Linked DNA regions of Homo sapiens: region 1 is linked to region 2. The links are contacts of gene promoters, found by promoter capture Hi-C in blood cells and fetal thymus (Javierre and others, 2016). All regions are on one chromosome and are shown on one strand. Each heading gives the region's core, a stretch centred on a gene start or on the middle of the fragment in contact. The rest is flanking DNA. Distances are from core to core; before and after follow the strand shown.

Region 1 (5,036 bases), core at 2,064-4,563, 290 kb before region 2:
TAATTTTGGCTGATTAGAACTTTTTTTTTAATTATATAACTAAAGGAGCAAATGTCAATTTAATTGAACTCCAGGAGAAAGCAAAAGCTGGAAAAATAAACCAATTAAGGAAAGATTCAGAGAAATTCACAAACAACTGATTCATATGAAACTGTTGGGAAATTTAAGATTTTGTGAGATACTACCTTAAGTTTTGAACATTAGCATCACGAAAGGGAGTTAAGTCCTTCCACAAAACCTTTCCTGATGCCCTTCAGGGACCTAACACTAGTAGGAGGTATGAGAGGTATGACTCAGCATAGTAATTCTTATGCATAGAGTAAATGTTTGGGAAAACACATACCATTTGGAGTATCCTTGCCACATGTTTGCAAGGATGGTCCATATCTGCCCACTGGGATTCTGGCAAAAGTAAAACCCATATAGGTACTATTTTCACAAAAATTAGCTGTAATAAAGAGAAAAAGTTCTTTATTATAAATTGTATTTTAAAAAAATTGAAACCAGATAAAAGTCAAAGGTCAGAACCTATGCAGTGAAATTTGAAAGGCAATAGAAGGCTTATAGAACCCACTGGCCTGTGAGGAACTTCTATACTTTGCTATCTGGTTAAGTCATTGCCGTTAGAATAACTAGTATGTTAGACAACAGGTTCCAGTTAAAATGTGCACAATATAAACCTGGGTAGAGAGGGAATGTGAGCTAGGATACTGTAACAGATTAGTTGGAATCTTCAGAACTAAAAATATAGAGCCTATAGTGGTCAACGGTACCATGAGGATGTGGGCAAAGCAAAAAGGCAAATTCATGGGATCTGTGGGATATATTGACTGGTAGGAGTATAGGAAATGATAGCAGTGGATATCTAGGGCTCTGAACCCTAAGCAGACAGCATGAAGTGTACGGTGTTGGGAAGCACACCTCAAATTTAAAAATGGCCTTGAACTTTGATTCTGAGACACAATTGATTGAAATCAAACCACTAACTTAATAACAACTCTTCAAGGTAGAGGAAGAAAAGATAAAAATTTAATATAAGTATATACTCAGGAAGATGCATATTGATTTCAGAAAAGTTAAATATATTAGAGTAGTGATATTTGAAATGGTATATTATGGCATATTACCAATTGAAAGGACCTGAGAGAATCATGTCATTCATTGCCCTGGATTAGTCATTGCAGCCAGGAAACACGACTGTGAGTTTGCAAAAAAACTTAGTAGTCAGGAAACAGATAAGGTGCATTGAATATACTGATAAATTGGCCAAGAAGAAAACTCAGCTTTTACTATTGAGCTGATAAACACATCCTAAAGCCATCATCATTATGTCCATTGTTTCTGTAACCATTAACTGAAGCTTCTAGAAGCTTTATTGCTATTCTTATTAACACAAGAGTGACGTAAACCTTACACTTTAGCATTATCCCAAGTAATTTACCAATTGTACATCTCAGTCCTTTCCACTCTTCTGTACAAATACATCTGCCATTTTCCCAGGTTCCACCATTCCTGCAGAACTCTGTAGGGGTGCTTGATGAGGAAGTAGATTTTCCTAAAGAAACAATAAATAACAGAATAGTCATGAACTGGCTGATTCATTTCTCCTTTCATGCCTGTGGCCACTTAATTTCTACACGTAAAACCACTGCTTTGAGTATCATTGCTGAGAAATATTCTTTGTAATATCATCATTAATAAAATATACACTGAGAATCTACACTAGATGTACAATGCTTACTAGATGCTATGGATACCAGAAAGATGTAGTTGAAAGACATAATACTTTGACCAAGGAGATTAGAATCCCCTGAGAAATCAGAAATTATATAGATGGTAAGTAGATAGATAGATAGATAGATAGATAGATAGATAGATAGATAGAGTCAACATGGAGGCTTATAAGTACAGTAAAAACACATAGGAGAGAGGTTGATGACAGAGGTAACCTAGCCAAGAAGACCCGGTAAGAGATAGTATGTGGACTGGATTTTAAAATTACATCTTGAAAAACCAGATGAAAATGGGTGACCCGAGTAGGCAGGATACGAACTGCAAAAATCACAAAAACATGGAAAGTTCTGATGTGTCTAAGGAACAGAGAAGAATTTAACATCAGCATTGGTTCTATGTGGAACAACATCAGGACATAGATTCAATTGGAAGGGACTTTATAAACCAAACCAAGAAGATTTAATCTTGAAGGAACCTTAGAGGGGTCATAAAACAAAGGAGTAACATAAGGAATTATTTTTAGGAGGATAAGTGAAGGAGTATGGGAAATGACTGAGGCTAAGGGGGAAGGAAAACCAGTTAAATGAGAACTAGAACTCAAGCAGTGACTCTAAGAAAGTTAGGTGTCACTAGGTTCAGGAAGCATACCTGAGAAAGAATTGTTAGGATCTAATGACTAGTTATTTTGAGTTGGGGATAGCAGAGTTTCTAAATTGTAAAACAGAGTGAAAGGTGAACAAATTAACTAAGTGGAAGAATACAGGGTTGTGTGCAGTGGCTCACACCTCTAATCCCAACACTTTGGGAGGCTGAGGTGGGCGGATCACTTGAGGTCAGGAGTTCGAGACCAGCCTGAGCAATATGGTGAAACCGCATCTCTACTAAAAATACAATTAACCTGGTGTGGTGGTGCCTGCCTGTAGTCCCAGTTACTTGGGAGGCTGAGGCACGAGAATCACTTGAACCTGGGAGGCGGAGGTTGCAGTGAGTTGAGATCACACCACTGCATCCAGCCTGGGTGACACAGTAATCTCAAAAAAAAAACAAAAAAAACAAGTGGCAGAGTTCTAGTTTCAATAATGATGGAATAGATTGTACCATATTAACCCTCTCATAGATAACAATGGTAATAATTGCACAAACGTTTTTAAAAAAAAAACTACTTGAAGGCATTGGACAGCAATGAAAAACAGGCAGAAACTGAAAGGTATTCGAAGTCTCTATAGTATTTCCACTAAGGGCACTACCCAGTCTCTATGGCAGAAGTGGCTGAAACTTGATCAGAAAGCCAGTCTTAATGGGTTAAGGTATGACAGGAAACTCTTTGGGGTTGCAAGAACAACTGGAAATTGAAGGTAGATATCCCAGAATAAAAGGAGCCATATAGAAAAGAAACTCAAAGTTTGTGTAGAAATTACTCTCAAATCCAGGGAGAAAAAAGATTTAAAAAAATAAACAGAGCTTCAAGAATCTGTGGGACAATATCAACATATTGTCTAACATATAAGCAATTGGAGTCCTAGAAGGGGAAAAGAGAAGGAATAGGGAAGATAAAATATCAGAAGAAATCATGTCAAAATTTCCCAAATTTTGTTAAGAACTTCAGCTTATAGATCCAAGAGGCTCAGAAGAATCACAAGAAAAACAAATGCAAGAAAAACCATGCATAGACACTTCACAGTCAGTCAAACTGCTGAAACTCAAAGATAAGGAGAAAATCCTGAAAGTATCCAACTGCCAGCCCAGATAGTTTTACTCGTAAATTAGAAAAGAAATAACACCAATCTCATACAAACTCTTTTAGAAAATAAAGAAATGAAGAAACTTCCCAAATCATTTCATAATGCCAGCATAACCCTTATACCAAAATCTGACAAAGACATTACAAGAAAATAAAGTTACAGGCCAATAAATCACGTTTACACAGATGCCAAAAAAATCCTTTAAAAATAGCAGGAAGTCAAATCTCTCAACATATAAAACTAATAATACATCATGACCAAGTGAGATTTATCCCAGGGATGCAAGGTTAGGTTGGCAATCAATAGAAAATCAATTAATTTAATTAATCATATGATAGAATAAAGGAGATAAACTTCACGATCATCTCAATAAATGCAGGAGACAAAAAGCATCTCACTTTTTTTAAACTCTCAGCAAACGAGAAATAAAACAGAACATCTTCAAACTGATAAAATCACCTGTGAAGAACCTACTACAAATATCATACTTAACAGTGTAATATTGAATACTGTCTCTCCTAAGACTGACAAAAACACAGTTCAATATAATTGCTATAACCACTTCGATTCAACATGGTGCTGAAGATGCTAGCAGTGCAATACGCAGGAAAAAGAAACAAAAGTGTAAAATTAAGAAGGAATTGCAGATGATATCATCAAATATATGAAATGCTAAGATATCTCCAAAAAGTTACTATAATTAATAAGTGAATTTAGCAAGACTGCATGACATAAAATAAAGACATTTTCACATATTAGCAACAAACAATTGAAATATAAAAGCATAAATCATTTTCATTTAAAATAGCATCAAAAATTATAAAATTCTTGGAAATAAATCTAACAAAATTTACTTAACAAGATCTCATTGTTCAGATAATTTTTTTTTCTTTTGACGGAGTCTTGCTCTGTTGCCTAGGCTGGAGTGCAGTGGCACAATCTCGGCTCACTGCAACCTCTGACTCCTGGGTTCAAGCGATTCTTCTACCTCAGCCTCCCGAGTAGCTGGGACTACGGGCACATGCCACCATGCCCAGCTAATTTTTGTATTTGTAGTAGAGATGGGGTTTCACCATATTAGCTAGGCTGGTCTCGAACTCCTGACCTCACGATCCGCCCACCTTGGCCTCCCAAAGTGCTGGGATTACAGGCATGAGCCACCATGCCTGACCCCGTTCAAATAAATTTTAAAAGATCTAAATAAATGGAGATATATACCTTGTATGGATGGAAGATTCAAAGTTGCTAAGGTGTCTATTCTCCCCAAATTGATACAGTCAAAATCCATAAATGAAAGTTTTTTTATAGAAATTAACAAGCGGATTTAAAATATTTATGGAAATGCAAAACACTTAGAAAGGCCAAAAAGAAGAACAACTCTATGCAAATAAACTAGAAAATCTAGAAGAAATGGATAAATTCCTGGACACATACACCCTCACAAGACTAAAACAAGAAGCCAAATCCCTGAATAGGTCAATAACGAGCTCTGAAATTGAGGCAGTAATTACTAGCCTACCAACCAAAAAAAGCCCAGGACCACACGGATTCACAGAGCTG
Region 2 (4,717 bases), core at 1-2,500:
GGCAAACAGATATTTTGAGCTGTTATCAGAACAGCAGATAAATCCACTAAACGTCTCCCCTCCATTTCCCAGCGTTAAGCCATTCTCCCTCCTCAGCTTCCCAAGTAGTTTGGGACTAAAGGGGCGTGCCACCACACCGGGCTAATTTTGTATTTTTTAGTACAGACAAGGTGTCGCCATGTTGCCCAGGCTGGTCTCCAACTCTTGACTCGTGAACTCAAGCGATCCTCGTGCCTCAGCTTCCCAAACTGTTGGGATTACAGGCGTGAGCCACGTGCCGGGCCATGTCTGTGCTTCCGAGGGTGGGAAAGATAAAGCTCACCATGGCTACGCTGATGGCTTCCTCTCCTACACATCTCACCCACAAGGGCGGGGTCCTCAACTAAGCTTAGGACTGCCTATCATTCTGCAAATGACCCACTCTACAGACATGCTGCAGCAGGGAAACCCCGCCACTGGGCAGTTCCTCATGCTGAGGAGGAGACGCCCGTCACTCCATCTCATCTGTAAAGTGAAGACTTTTAAGGCTGCCCTAATATTCATCATAATCTAACAACGAAGACCTTACCAAGGGGCGGAAAAAAAGAATAAAATACTGTGAGCGAAGGAAACAACAAAGGAATAACATTTAAAGCAATGTGCCAGGTCCTTCACACATTAACATCATTGTGTGAGGTATCATTAACATCATTTTACAAATAAAGAAACAGGGGACTTGCAGGGGGAAAGCTGCACAAAGTCACTGAACAAAGTAAGTGACACAGCAAGAATCCAAGTCAAAATCTGGAGCTGGAAAGTGAGTGGGGAGACGAAGAACCGCCTGGGCACCTTTGTGCAGGGCGGGGCTGGAGGAGGTCACGCAACTTGAAAACACCCAAGGGAGTTGGATCCTACCACCGCGGCCCACACCGTGGAGAAATACACGTCCATCAGCCTCTGTCAAGCAGGACGCGGCGGGTGCCGGCGCGGCCGGGTGGCCTGGTGCTTTCTGGGCCTCGCCCGCCACCCCGGAAGCCTGGAATCCCGGGAGTGCGCCCGGCCGCCCGGCCACGCGATCCCGGACCCACGCGGACGCCCGCCTCAGGGAAGGCCGCGCACGGCGGGGACGCGGGGCGGAGGGGCTGAGCCGGCCGAGCCACCGCCGGCGCCGCTCCAAAGCCTCCCCCGCGGCCCGAACTCGAGCTGCAGCGCGCGGCCGCGCCACTTACAGGTCATGACTCTGCAGACAAGCACCACCTGCGGCGCGGACTGAGCGCTGGAGATCCGGCGGACCGCGGCGTCGCTACGGTGGGGCGGGGACCGCGTCAGAGGCCCCGCCCCACCCCTCCTCCTGGCCCCGGCCGGGAGGAGAGAAGGGTCTGCGTTCATTCCAGTGCGCCTGTAACACCAGGACGGACCAACGAGAAATGGTTAATTGCAACACAGTCCGGAAAAAGCATGCCTCGAAAGGCAAAGGGCAAAAGGGAACGGCCTAAGTCGAGGTGGTGTGCTGGTGAATGTCTTAACAACCAGACTTTTCAGGGAGGAAAGCCCTGATTTGTAGCGTTTGCTGATTCTCCGCAAAAGGACTGAACTTCTAGCTGGTTGAATCACCTCTGTGGCCAGGTTAACACCGTATGCTGATGGGCTTGAGCTATTTGAACAAGTCTCTGTGACGGGGACGGAATGACCCTGGTTGGTTTAGGCACGCGAGACGTCTGTAAAATCTGACTACAAGGCTGCTAGGCCAACGGGAAAGATGCTGAGGGTTCAACGCCATGCCCTCAACAAGTCAGTCCTCGAATACATTGTCATCTCTTTGCTAATATCCTTTTTTGTTTGTTTGTTTTAGACAGGGTCTCACTCTGTCATCCAGTCAGGAGTGCAGTGCAGCAGTCTCAGCCCATTGCAGCCTCAACCTCCCGGCTCAAGCGATCCTCCGTCCTCAGCCTCCCAAGTAGCTGGGACTACAGGCACACACCACCACACCTAGCTATTTCTTTTCCTTTTTTCTTTTTCTTTCTTTCTTTCTTTTTTTTTTTTTTTTAAGTTTTTTACTTTTAATAGAGGTGGGGCCTTGCTATTTTGCCCAGGCTGGTCTCAAACTCCTGAGCTCAAGACCCTACTGCCTTAGCCTCCCAAAGTGCTGGAATTATAGGCGTGAGCTGCTGCGCCCAGCCTATAGACTATGATTTTTGCATTTTTATTTATTAGATTGCTTTTTAATTTTCGTGTTTTGTGTTTTTGTGCCTTGTCAGACTTGTGGAACAAAAATCCAAAACTTAACCACCTTTTGGAATGCCCCAGAATAGTTTATACTGAAACAGATCTTGGTTTGTAAAAGAACACTATAAAAACATTTTGGGGGCAACTAGGGAGATTTAAATATGAACGAGATATTTGATGCTTTTCTGAATTATTTTGTGTGCTATAGTGTTGTGCTTGTGACAATTCTTTACTCTTAGAAAATGAGGAAGTATTAGGGATGAACCATCAGAATGTTTGACTTGAAAATCGTCAGCAAAAAGAAAACACATAAGATAAAGCAAATATGGCAAAATGTTAATTATTAAATCTAGGAGGAGGACACAGCTGTTCATGGTACTAGATTAAAACTTTGTAGAAGTTTAAAATTTTAAGCTTTCATAAAAAAAAATTGGGGGGAAATACATAGCAGTTATGGTCTTTCTGCAGCTTAAGAGACTATCTGGACTTGGCTTTGTAGCAGGAAGATCTTTAAAAACCTTTTCATTTCTGCTATGCTTATTAACCTATGAGGTTTCAGGGTCAACCTGTGGTCACTTACAACCTGTTAAAAAAATTCATCTAGATTTCCAAATTTATTGGACTAACATTGTAACTAATAGTGGTCCTAAACCTGGCTGGAAATGTTATTTGAAGTGCTTGTTCAAAATGCAAATTATTTCATTTTTTTAGAAGTGGATTCTTACAGTGTTGCCCAGGCTGGTCTCAAACTCCTAGGCTCAAGTGATCCTCCCACTTTGGCTTCAAAAAGTGCTGGCCTTATAGGCATGAGCCATGGCATCCAGGTGGAGATGCCCAGTAGGCAACCGGACCAAAGCCTCAAGCTCAGAAGATGTCTGGGCTGGAAATTGACTTGGGAGTCACCAGCAGTTTTAACTAAGAGGAAGCTCTGAATTTGGATGAGAACACACAAGCGGAGTATGAAAGGCACACGCAAAAGAAGAAGGGCCTGTGGAGCCTGGGAAGGAGCCATTAGAGGAGAAGGACCAGGCCGGGCGCCACTGCCTGGTGGAGGAACAGCTGTGTCCTCCTCCTAGATTTAATAATTAACATAATCCCAGCACTTCAGGAGGTGGAGGCAGGTGGATCAAGAGGTCAGGAGCTCGAGACCAGCCTGACCAGCATGGTGAAACCCCGTCTCTACTAAAAATGCAAAAATTAGCTGGGCGTGGTGGCACACACCTGTAATCCCAGCTACTCAGGAGGCTGAGACAGCAGAATCACTTGAACCTGGGAGGCGAATGTTGCGGTGAGCCGAGATTGTGCCACTGCACACCAGCCTGGGTGACAGAGCCAGACTCCATTAAAAAAAAAAAGAGAGAGAGAGAAGCAGGACCAGGAGAAGGCCATCAAGACCAAAAGCCTATGGGTACTGTGTCCCTCTGTCACATGCAGGGAAACTGCTGACTTGGGCACTAGGGGTGTTCCTAGAAAAGGAAAAGCTAAATGAAAGTGCGCTTTTTAAACCTTTCTTTAGAACTTTCTGGGCACAATGGAAAAGCTAGTCACTGGGTTCTGGTTCTGGCTCTGACACTGATTAGATGTTAATACCTAGGGCAAATCACCTCACCCTCAGGACCTTTTCCTCACCTGTATGTGAAAGGATTTAGAGGCAAAGGAAGAAGAATCTGGCTGAAGGGTGAAGTTTGTGCAGCCCTCCCCACCACCACTCCCCTCACTGTCCCTTCTCTGCAGCAGCTCTGCCTTCGTTTCCATGTTCCTGTTCATCTGACGTATGAAAATAGGCCAAAAAACAAAACTACCAGGCCAAATGGATCTTGAAAGCCCAGCTAAAAATCTGGTGTGCCTTTTCAGTCTCTATTCTCATTTCTACCCATGTCTCACAGGCTTAATGACCATTTCCAGGCTGTTACTAGTCAGATTTTTATTTTTACTCCAGAGGACCTATTTCAACATCTCCGGCTGCCGCCATCTCTATTTACATGTCTCAACATCAGTTCCAACTCAACTATGTGAAACTAAATGTATCACCTCCAAAAGAGCTTCTCCACCCAGCACTTACAGGCACCACAATTTATGCCCAGTTTTCTAATTCTCCCTGCTTTCCAGCCCTCCAAGAAAACCTAAGTCACTTCAGTGACTTTCGAGTCTTTCATTCCCCACCTCTGGTAAGGGACAGGGCTCTTCTTACTCTCAGGAAATGTCCCTGATTCCTCCTTTCAGTTCCCACCACCACCGTCCACAGGTAGGCCTTCCTCACCTTGGGGAGACTGCTACAGGCACTTCCTAACTGGTCTCTCCTTTCCATCAGCATTCCTCCAGCTGCCGCTTCATAGTATGAGGTGAGTCTAGGGGAACGTGAGCTCAGTTTTTGGGGGAGAGGTGGATATGTGTTCCAGGAAAACTCTCCGTGTTTTTCCTCTGCTCTTACATCACCACCACAACAATCATCATCACAGAAGAATTCTGGGACCAAATGTGAGGGGGTTCCTCCCTACCACCAAGCAGCGGA

Evidence for each region. Contacts are between HindIII fragments. The CHiCAGO score rates a contact against its expected background, and 5 or more counts as called.
Region 1: a fragment that was not itself captured here is called in contact with the fragment with the promoter of NIT2 in region 2 in 1 of 17 cell types (megakaryocytes); the score reaches 5.3 in megakaryocytes.

What each region holds. Positions count from the first base shown.
Region 1 is chr3:100,626,117-100,631,152 of GRCh38, reverse strand. ADGRG7 (adhesion G protein-coupled receptor G7) reads right to left here. Exons shown (of 16, transcript NM_032787.3): 2 at 1,442-1,555; 3 at 344-448. Among named protein-coding and RNA genes, the nearest start is that of ADGRG7, 19 kb to the right of the region's middle. The HindIII fragment of the contact is 3,882 bases long and covers 1,373-5,036 here.
Region 2 is chr3:100,331,290-100,336,006 of GRCh38, reverse strand. NIT2 (nitrilase family member 2) reads right to left here and starts at 1,250. Exons shown (of 10, transcript NM_020202.5): 1 at 1,209-1,250. The coding sequence starts at 1,215. RefSeq lists silencers at 228-522, 921-1,250 and enhancers at 491-570, 691-750, 771-820, 914-1,482. The HindIII fragment of the contact is 2,232 bases long and covers 390-2,621 here.